Regions from separate parts of the Homo sapiens genome. Here region 2 is linked to region 1. The links are contacts of gene promoters, found by promoter capture Hi-C in human tissues and cell types (Jung and others, 2019). All regions are on one chromosome and are shown on one strand. The core of a region is centred on a gene start or on the middle of the fragment in contact, and the rest is flanking DNA. Distances in the headings are between cores, read along the strand shown. Region 1 holds the start of GPRC5A (G protein-coupled receptor class C group 5 member A). Region 2 has its middle 57 kb from the start of EMP1.

The links. The method cuts DNA at HindIII sites, captures the fragments that hold promoters and counts their contacts. A contact is called where the count stands out against the background at its distance.
Region 2: a fragment that was not itself captured here is called in contact with the fragment with the promoter of GPRC5A in region 1 in 1 of the 25 tissues and cell types used here (hippocampus).

What each region holds. Positions count from the first base shown.
Region 1 is chr12:12,889,811-12,895,444 of GRCh38, forward strand. It overlaps GPRC5A (G protein-coupled receptor class C group 5 member A), which reads left to right and starts at 1,752. Exons shown (of 4, transcript NM_003979.4): 1 at 1,752-1,854. The HindIII fragment of the contact is 16,829 bases long and covers 1-5,634 here.
Region 2 is chr12:13,251,073-13,256,795 of GRCh38, forward strand. No RefSeq gene overlaps it. Among named protein-coding and RNA genes, the nearest start is that of EMP1, 57 kb to the left of the region's middle. RefSeq lists enhancers at 4,683-4,977, 5,697-5,723. The HindIII fragment of the contact is 3,421 bases long and covers 1-3,412 here.

The DNA.
Region 1 (5,634 bases), core at 502-3,001:
GCGGGAAGACTGCTTGAGCCTGGGAGGTAAAGGCTTACAGTGAGCCATGATGGTATCACTGCACCCCAGCCTGGGTGACAAAGTGAGAGTGTCTCAAACAAGAAACAAACAAAAAAATTAGCCAGGTGTGGTAATGCACACATGTGGTCCTGGGTGCTTGGGAGGCTGAGGTGGAAGGATAGCTTGAGCCTGGGTGATTGAGGCTGCAGTGAGCCGATTGTGCCATTGTACTCCAGCCTGGGTGACGGCGAGACCTTGTCTAAAAAAGAAAAAACACACAAAAAATAAAAAACAAATGTGGCTTATGTTTGTGGCTTGAATTATAGTTCTATTGTACAATGGTAGTCTAGTTCAACTTCTTGAACAGACGAGAACGCTGGGGTCCGGAGAGAAGCCCTGACTTAGCGGATGGCACACACTATAAAGCACTGTCATTTGCAGTCCCACCAGTCTCTCAGTACCCACCCCCACTCTGCCACACACACCCCTGGGAGTCTTAGGTGTGAAATGGGTGGACTCACAGACCCCTGGGCTGCATACCTCAAAGTGTTCCAACACTCAAGGCACTGCCTGTGGTTTTTTGGGAGTGAAATAAAAACCTAACAATGGTGGGGTCACAGTCTCCAGTAGGTCACATTTTAAAAGCACTTTAGGCTCTGGAGACTTGGGGTGTGGGGAGAAGTGAAGAGAAAGCTGGGGAGCCCTGGGCCTTCCCCCATTTCTTCATATGCAGAATAATCCAGATTAGTTTACCAAGCGCGCTGATAACCACTTTAAAAACAGAGTCCCTCCTGCCTCCCCGTGGCATGGGGTAGAACCTGGCTTGAGCCCCGACACAGGCGGGCAGCCACTCCAGGATCGTTCCACACGTAAACAAAGACGAGTTTCGGTCCGATTGGCTTGATCCTGGAAGAGGAGTGGGCAGTGGAGGGAGGGGAAACCAGGCACCAAAGCAAATTCCTTCATTTCATAATTTCATCTGGCGCCCCCGTTCAATCAGCCTGCATTGTCGAGGCTTTAGGAGAGGCAGTTAGGAAAGGAGAGATACTGATCTCTCAGCCCCAGGGCAGCACTAATGGTGCCTGTCTAGACTCTGACAGGTGGAGCTGCTGAGCTAACTACGGACCTGGTGGGGGAAGTTTTCCTTGGCTTTCACGTGGCTTTGGCTGGGGAGCCCTGAGAAGGTGGCTGCCTCCTTTTTCTGAAGCCTGGCTTCCCATACGGCAGTGGCTGGGGGAGAGTGATGGAGAGAAAGGCTAAGCTAAGGTCAAAGAAAGTGGAGGAAGGCTGGCTTGTCCCGCTGGACTTGACGGCGGAGCTGCTGCAATCTCGCGGGCTGGGCCCTTGCCCCGGGTGGACCCGAGTGCCTGCGGGGAGGCGGGTGTGGCTCCCCCGGGAGGTGACAGCTGGCGGGGCCCGTAAGGAGCTGGTCTGCTCCGGCTCCCCTCTCGTAGCCGGCGCCCTGGGACCAGCGCGTGAGCACGTCTCGGAGGAGTCCGATGCGCTGGGCAGGGCCGGGTGGTCACCCCCGCCCAGCTTCCAGGGGTGACTGTGCCTCTGACGTCAGACGGTTTTTGGGTCATTCCCTGGCACGGGGACTTTATTTTCATAACAGCATGAAGTGCCGTGGAACTGGAATAGGCGTGTCCTCTCCCTCGACCCTCCCCCTCCTTGTCCCTCTGCTCACCCCTCGCTCGTTCCCTCCCTCCGGCGAGGGCCGCCTTTATAACAACTGCTCAGAGTGCGAGGGCGGGATAGCTGTCCAAGGTCTCCCCCAGCACTGAGGAGCTCGCCTGCTGCCCTCTTGCGCGCGGGAAGCAGCACCAAGTTCACGGCCAACGCCTTGGCACTAGGGTAAGTGAGGCGCCAGGAGCCCAGAGCGCTGGGGCCTCCGGATTTAAATCGTCTGGGGAGAGCGGGGCGTTGGGAGGGGTGGGATAGAAGAGGAGAGAAATCCTGGTAATGGAATACAGTTGGCTATGAGAAAAAAATTCCCTAGGAAACAGTTCCTCTAGTTTAACAACTCAGATTTTTTTTTTTTTTTTTCCCCTTTGCGGGTTTCCTAGGCTAAGATAGAGGCAGAGAGCAAAGAGATAATCAGGGTAATAGTTTCTGCTCGGACACATTCTACAAACTTTGAGTAGATGGAATCCGGCCAGGCAGGAGGTGAGCAGCTCTGGGATCACTCTGCAGGAAAAGAATAGAGGGAGAAAGATCTCAGAGGACCCGAAGGTACTGGGAGTGGAGGGGGAGTGGGAAACAAGGGGCAGGGGCAGGAGGGAGGACACGGTGACAGCTACTATTTTACCCAGATGCTGCAAAAAGCCCTTCTGAGTTTTGGGAATTAGATCTAGAAGCCCATCCCTTTTCTCTTGATGTGTGGGCGGTCAGTTCCACTCTGGTGTGCCTTGAGTTGCTCAGAAACCTGGGACAGATGAAAGTTGAATGTGCGCTGAGAGTGCACCTTCCACTACCGACTTTATGGATAGGATTTGGGAATAGCATAGATGCTGTTCCATCTGGTCCCTTAAACATCCATGGGGAAGGCTGGCAAATAGCTTTATTTTATTTTTTGAGATGGAGTTTCACTCTTGTTGCCCAGGCTGGAGTACAATGTTGCGATCTCAGCTCACCGCGACCTCCACCTCCCGGGTTCAAGCGATTCTCCTGCCTCAGACTCCCGAGTAGCTGGGATTACAGGCATGCACCACCACTCCTGGTTAATTTTGTATTTTTAGTAGAGACGGGGTTTCCCCATGTTGGTCAGGTTGGTCTCAAACTCCCGACCTAAGGTGATCTGCCCGCCTCAGCCTCCCAAAGTGCTGGGATTACAGGTGTGAGCCCCCGCGCCCGGCCACAGATAGCTTTAAACATCCATGGGAAAGGCTAGCTAACAGCTGAAACCTGCTCAGAATCAAGGAATTTGAAGGACTTTCCATTCCTGACTTCTTTCCATTCCTGATTGTCTCCTCAGAGGCTTGTGTAAACACCACACCTGTTGAAGGGTTCGGCCGAATCAGCCACTGCTGTGGGTTCATTCCTGAAGGGGAACACTTCAGCTACTTCAGACACAATGGGCTAGGGACCACGGGAGGGGTGAGGGCGGAGGGGGCACACACCCTCCAGGTTTGCATGCCGGTGTCTGCTAGGTGAGGGAAGGAATGAGGGGAAGGAAGGGCCGGGAGAGGCGCTACGTGGGAAACAAGGGACCTCTCCAAGGGCGTGGAGAGGTGAGTGCCTCAAGGGCAGAATGGAATGAGCAGAACCCTTTGGTTTCCCGGGAAGAGCTCTCAACCTTGAGTCAGGAAGACTGATTTCTCCTCCCAGCTCCGCAGGAACATGGAACTGTGATCAGGCAAGGGGCTGGGCCTGAGTTCCTCATAGGGGTCTTGGGGAGGCCCCCAGTTTCCCCTCCTGTGTTTCGATTCTGGCCCCTCTCCATCTGCACACGTCGCCTTGGAAGTTCCCTTTAGAACTGGCTTTTTTGTATTCTAGTCTTGAATGGTAATCGAAGACAACAGGGTATGAAGAACAATTTTGACGGCGTGATTTTATTCTTCTCATTCTGGGTCCACTACTATTTAAAGTCCCAAGATTAAGCTGAGGAATTAATATGGTGGTATAGTAAACAATAAATTGAGGAGTATTTTTGCTTGAGGAATCTTTGACTTCCTGAGTAGTTCAGGGTGTTTGCTTCTTTTATTCTCATTTTTATTGCACTGTGGTCAGACTATATGGTCTGCACATTTCTTATTTTCTAATTCCAGATTTGTCTTTGTATTCTAAATATGCTCATTTTTGGCAAATGTTCCATTTGGACCATGGACCATAGTTCCTATTAAGCAATCATAATAGAGTAGAGATGGCAAACTATGGTCCATGGACCAAATATGGCCTATAGCCTCTTTCTGTAAATAAAGTGATTTTTGTTTTGTTTTGTTTTGTTTTTGTTTTCGTTTTTTTGAGATGGAGTCTCGCTCTTGCCCAGGCTGGAGCGCAGTGACGTGATCTCGGCTCACTGAAACCTCTGCCTCCCGGTTTCAAGGTTTCAAGCCATTCTCCTGCCTCAGGCTCCCAAGTAGCTGGGATTACAGGCGCCCGCTACCACGCCTGGGTAATTTTTGTATTTTTAGTAGAGACAGGGTTTCACCATGTTGGCCAGACTGGTCTCAAACTCCTGACCTCAGGTGATCTGCCTGCCTCGGCCTCCCAAAGTGCTGGGATCATAGGCATGAGCCACAACCTGTAATCCACTATTTTACTAAAACACAGCAATGCTCATATGTTTATGTATCATCTATGCTGCTTTCATGCTACAAATGTGTGGCTTGCAGAGTCTTAAATTGCTTATAACCTGGCCCTTTATAGAAAATCTATGCTGATCACTGATATAGAGGATCTGAATTATATGATTAGTAATGGAGATCTAATAAGATATGAAGATAGAGAATATTTCTATTTAAGTATCCATAGAACATTTACACAATTTTACCATGTTCTTATTCATATTGTATATTTTATCTGCCAAGGACTGGTAAAGAAGTATGAAAGTCTCATGCAACTATAGTATTGCCTTTGGGTTCTCCTTGTATTTTCAGCAGTTATTTATTTATTTTGAGACAGGGTCTTGCTCTGTTGCCCTGGCTGGAGTGCAGTGGCACAATCTTGGCTGACTGTAACCTCCACCTCCCAAGCTCAAGTGATCCTCTTGCCTCAGACTCTTGAGTAGCTGGGTCTACAGGCACCCACCACTACACCTGGCTAATTTTTAAATTTTTTGTAGAGATGGGGTTTTGCCATGTAGCCTAGGCTTGACTCAAACTCCTGGGCTCAAGCAATCTTCCTGCCTTCACTTCCCAAAGTGCTGGGATTATAGGTGTAAGCCTCTGTACCCAGCCTTCAGTACTTTTTGTTTTACGTATTTTGGTGCTATATTAGTTGGTGCATAAAAGTCTAGGATGGTTTTTTTTTTTTTTTTTTTTTTTTGAGACAGAGTCTCGCTCTGTCACCCAGGCTGGGGTGCAGTGGTGCGATCACGGCTCACTGCAAGCTCTGCCTCCCGGGTTCACGCCATTCTCCTGCCTCAGCCTCTTGAGTAGCTGGGACTACAGGTGCCCGCCACCATGCCCGGCTAATTTTTTGTATTTTTAGCAGAGACAGGGTTTCACCGTGTTAGCCAGGATGGTCTTGATCTCCTGACCTCGTGATCTGCCCGCCTCAGCCTCCCAAAGTGCTGGGATTACAGGCGTGAGCCACCGTGCCCGGCCCAGGATGGTTTTATCTTCAGTGTAGAGCATCCCTAATTATTATAAAACAAGCCTTTTGGTCAATATAATATCTTTTTGCTTTGATTACAACTTTGTATGATATTAAAACCTTAACTTCTACTTAATTATTTTACCTTGAACAACTTACTTAACTTTGTGTCTGACACATAATACTTGTTAAATAAATATTATGTTAGTATTTCTTTTTATTTTCATTTCTTTCTGTTCTTTTGCTTTTAACTCTTGTGTATCTTTTTGTTTTAGGTTAGGTTCTTCTAGGTATGATATAGTTTAGTCTTTTTTTTTTTCAAAATAGTTACCATTTACATTTCTTGTAATAATAGTTACTTGTTATTGTCATCTAATT
Region 2 (5,723 bases), core at 452-2,951, 360 kb after region 1:
GTTCCAATTAAGGTTTACCCTTAGACTAGGAGTGGGGTCTATTCAACCTAAACACCTGGGCTGTTACACAGCAGGAATAGCGGACAGGTCAGAATGGATGTTGAGAGGCAACTCCATTTCCCGCTACAAGAGTTCAGAGGCGGTCTATCAGAAATAATGAGCTTCAAACTGGGCATTGCGTTCCAACTTGCACATGATAAGTGGTCACCATACAAAGTCAGTGACAGAATACATACCTCCCCAAGCCTCGCTCCTCCCTCCTTCTTCCAGCTAAATCCTTTGGTCTAAAACATACAGTTTGTTATTCTGCAAAATAAATAAAAAGGATACACTGTCACACAGTTGCTTTGAATGGGATGAAAAAAATGAATGAACAAACCAATGGTTAAAATTCTGTACAAATGGACTGCACACCAAATGGGAACAGGCATGATGCAGAACACCTGAGTAGCTGGGGTTACGGGCATGCACCACCGTGCCAGCCTGGATTTTTGTATTTTTAGTAGATATGGGGTTTCACTATGTTGGCCAGGCTGGTCTTGAACTCCTGGCCTCAAGTGATCTGCCCGCCTCCCAAAGTGCTGGGATTACAAGCATGAGCCACTGCGCCCAGCCAGCAGATTGCCTTTGGACTTGAACTCCAACTCTTCCTGGTTTCCAGTCTGCTGGCCTACTCTGCAGACTTTGGACTTTCCAAGCTTCCACAATCACGTGAGCCAATTTCTTAAAATCTCTCTCTCTCTCTATCTCCCCACACCTATCCTGTTGGTTCCATTTTTCTGGAGAACCTTAACTGACACAGATTATCCCCTGGGGTACTGATGATAAAATTGTGGCAAAAAACAATATGTTGTCCGGGAGCCTATGTTGTTTTCTAACAGTAGCAGTTGTGCACACCTCGGCCATGGTGACAGATAAAACTTGTGCATCTTCCAACTGATAACTGTTACTACTGGTCCTGGAGACTCATTACTTTAGGGAACTATAAGCAGTTTATGCATTTTCAAAACCACTGGGGTGGTCAAACAGACTAGAAAGATCATATTCCTAGGATCTATTTATGGGAGCAAGCATAGAGTGATCAGGCCAGGCAATAAGACCAGGCACCAGAGCAAGATTCAATAAACTGACTGGACTATGATTCAACTGAATCATTGTTTCTGGAGTCTCTGTGCCTTTGTACATGCTGTTCCCTCTGCCTAGAAGAGTCCTACTTTCACTATGTATTAGTCAGGGTTCTCCAGGAAAACAGACCAATGGGATATGTATATATCCAGAAATAGATTTATTTTAAGGAATAGGTTCATGCAATTATGTCAAGTCCAAAATCTGCAGGATGGGCCAGCAGGCTGGACACCCAGGGCAGAGCCAATGTTGCAGTTCATTTCTGAAGGCCATCTGCTGGCAGGATTCCTTCCGGCTCAGGGAGATCAGTCTTTTGCTCTATTCAGATAATTGAGTGAGGCCCACCCACATTAAGGAGGGCAATTTGCTTTACTCAAAGTCCATCTATTTAAATGTCAATCTCATCTGAAAACACCCTTACAGAAACATCCAGAAGATTGTTTGACCGAATATCTGGGCACTGTGGCCCAGCCACACTGACACATAAAATTAACCATCACCTATTGTTTGCTGGGAATTTCTCCCCATTCTTTAAGGTTCAGTTGAAACATCTTGGCAACATCAAGCTGCTTCTTCATTCCACCGCTCGGCCTCAGGACATTCTTATATTTGAATCCCTGTCCCACAGTACTGTAATGATTTACTCACATGCCTGTGGTCTCTCCTAGACAGTGAGCTTCCAATGGCATGGACCATGGGTCTACTGGAGACAATATTGCAAGATGATATTCTAGACTCTACCCAATGCCTAGCATACAGAGTTGTTCAATGCAATTCATAGAAGAAGGTGATAAATTAATGGAGGGGAATCAGGAGCTAGAAATAATAGCAGCATTGAGTTATTTGATCTCCAAATAATGAGCTTCTTCTCCTCTCCACCCCCCGACAAATATTTGTTGCTTCGGAGATGCAACAGAGCTAGCGGATCTACCTGGTCACTCTGTCCCAAGAACACATGTACACACATACCCATATTCATTATGACAGACCATGAAATGATTTGCCAAGTCAGCCTCTTGCTAAATACCTGAACTTGGGCATGATGCTTACATTCCAAAAGCTTGTTTTCTTTTAAAATCAATCATATGAGAACAACAATAATAATACCTATAGCACAGTGTTGTTAGAAAAATTAAGTGCCTATCATATAGTGGGTCCTTAGTAAAAGTTGATCCTCTTCCCTTAACCATGTTTGTTTTTATTTTTGAGACAGGGTCTTGCTCTGTTGCCAAGGCTGGAGTGCAGTGGTGTGATCTCATCTCACTGCAACCTCCACCTACCGGGTTCAAATGATTCTCATGCCTCAGCCTCCTGAGCAGCTGGGATTACAGGTGCCCACCATGACACCTGGCTAATTTTTGTATTTTTAATAGAAACAGGGTTTCACCATGTTGGTCAGGCTGTTCTGGAACTCCTGACCTCAAGTGATCCTCCCGCCTTGGACTCCTGAAGTGCTGAGATTACAGGCATGAGCCACCGTGCCTGGTCCCCTTGACCATGTTTGAGTTAACATCTAGTATATCGTGCATTAACTATTGAAAGTAACAAAGAACGTGTCAGTGAGTTCCAAAGATACTCTTAATGTCTCTTGATGACCTGGCCTTCTTATTTGTCTTCTTTCACTTTTTGACCAAAAGGAAGAACATAGATTGTGTAGGCAGTGGTCCCACACGAAAGAAGGAGAAGATAACTGGTGTGTGCACTATTTTATACTTTATTGAAATCAGTGATTCTTAATCTTGTCAGGAACACAGGCACTTTTGAGGATCTGAAGATAGCTAAGGACTCTTTCCCCAGAAAAATGCATATAAATGTGACACTTTGCATATAATCCTAAGATGTTCATGGACCCCACACACTCAAGGTTAAGAATCCTGAATCAAAATCTCCTCATTTGCTGCCTGTCCCTTGCTTCACATGTTCTGTCTCTCTCTATATATAGATACACACACATGCTCTCTGTTTCTCTCTCTGTATGCGCACAATGTTTCTCTATCTCTCTCTATTTCTGTTTCTCTTCCACATCTATATATTCATTCATCTGCTTAACTCACATGTTTAGGATTAGGATAAAGCTTATGGATGGCTAGGTGGATGGATAGAAAAGTCGAGGACCAGAAGGAGCTGTGGAAAGAAACACTTTAGACAAATTTAACAGAGTTTAATTGGGCAAAGAAAGATTCGTGAATTGGGCAGCTCTCAGAACCAGAATAGGTTCAGAGCGACTCCCGGTATTCACAGAAAAAGGAAAGTGCCATACAACGGAAGTGAGGACAGAAACAGCTGGATTGGCTACAGCTGGGCATTTGCCTTATTTGAACCTGCTTTGAACAGTTGGCTGCCTGTGGTTGGCTGAGACTTAGTTACCTCTTACAAGAGTAGGTTACAGTGTGTTTACGTATGCACATCAAGTTAGGTTACAGTTCATTATGTACAAAGAATGGCTCCTTTTGTAATTATTATTGTTGCTTTCACATGATTGATTTTAAAAGAAAACAAGCTTTCAGAATGTAAGAATCATGCCCAAGTTCAGGCAATTAGCAAGGGGCTGCCACACAAGTCAAAGGCAAATTTAGGCCAAACTTAAAATATGTACAGAGACAGCTTTAGGCCAAACTTAATTTAACAGAGCTGTGGAGTTAGAATGGTTCGTTTATTTTCACAGATATGTCACCTTGGAGATGTTAATCTATTATAAGTCAGAGTATAGTAATGGGTAAACTCACCTCCTGGGGCCATTTAGACAGCTTCACATATTCTGTGCAAGCTTGGACCGGACTATTAATTCTGTCTGTATCTCAGTTTCCCTAACTTTAAAATGGGGATAACAGTAGTTCCACCATCTTGAGCTGTAAGGATTAAATAAACTAAGACATATACAGATTTTAAAATCATGTATTTTAGTAAGCGTTCAGTAACTGTTAGCTTGCATTTTATTTTGATGACTTAAAATCACTTGTACTATAATTAGTTAGATACAAAGGACAGCATTCTACAAATAATAAATTCAACACCACTAAGAGAAAAATTTCACTAGAAATGTCTTTTCAGAAAAAAAGCACTTCCCTTAGGTGATTTACTCTTCAGTAGGGATTTTAAGTTAACAGGGTAGCTGGGATACCAGTCTTGATTTTTTTTTTTTTTCCTGGGAGCCAGTGAAAAAGGAATCCATTGTCTATAACATGTCTTTTCTATAATAACAAGACCTTCTCACTGGGAGAGGAACCCAAGTCTACTTCTAGACATCACTAGCAGGGTTTTTGTCTTTTTGTGTCTTTTACTTAGGAAGGGCCTCTAATTATTTTTATACCAAGGCAAAAGGTTTACTATTATATAAAATTATAAAGCTGACACTTTCTCACGAAAGGTTACTTAAAAGAAAAAAAAGATGAAAAAAGAAGTGTAAACGTGCAGTCATCACTGCTAACACTTCACATTTCTAAGGCAAAAAACTGTCTAAGATTGAATTTATTTTCCCTAATTTATAGGTCTTGTTTATCTTCGGCCCTTCACTCTTCTCTTACAATGTTCGCCTTGTTGTTTTTTTTTTTTTTGAATATAAAATATAAACCACTGCAGAACTGCGGCAGAATTACCCAGCAAGTGCAGTGTTACCAGTGGGGGAGGAGCCATCTATCCTAGGCCAGCTCCTGGCACCCCCTTGCCTCGCCGGGAGGAGGAAGGTGCAGCTGAGCCTGCGTCCAGCAGATGGCGCTGCCTGCAAAACCTGGAAGGGTAGGGGAAGTCAGGGCAGGGAAGCAGGGAGCTGAGTCACGGGACAAAGGGAGAGGAGGCGGCAGGGAGGAGAAGGGGAGGGAGGACCCGAACGGTGGCAGTGGTCGGAGTTCTGATGGTTGCAAAAGTGTGAAATGTTAATTTTGAAGTGAACATAATTTCATTCTAATTGTAATTAAGGTGGGAGGAGACACCCGCTTTCTGTCTTAAGTGCATTCAGACTTGTTTGGGAACGTCAAAAAACTCGAGGAGCCAGAGCTCCCAGTAGCTATTTGCATAAGAATGGAGGATCCTCCAGGGAGGAATTCATCCCATGGGAAGATGGAGCTGCTACCGAGCTAGACCAGGAGCAGCTGGGGCCTGGATCACTGAGTGCTCATTGTGCGAATAGCCAGGAAGTGGCTCATGACCCCCTGGAACACAGCTCTGCATCTTGCAGGGGAGAGAGGGGAATCTGTATAAAAACTGTAAGCGATGTTTTACTAAAAATCCCAAAAAAGCACCTAGGTAGAAGCCTCTCAGCCTTGGGGCTCTTCCAGCGGAGTGTAGCACCAGAGGCCCTCCTAGAGCTGGCCCAGGCTGCCTGGGACTGTGGGGACGTTGCTAACGGTGGTGGTCATCATTGCACACCCAGAACTGATTTCCTGCCTGGCCCTGTGCCAAGTACTTTACCTTCATCAACTCATTTAGGTTTCAAAATAAATCTAGGAAGTAGATTCTATTTTCAGTCTCAAAATTTTACTGAAGAGGAAACTGAGGCTGACTTAACTTGTGGACAGAGCTAAGCAGTTGTTGGAAGCCAAGTGGGCCTGGTCCCAGGACACATGGCTGCCGCCCTCCTTGCCTTCCGTGCCTATTTAGGC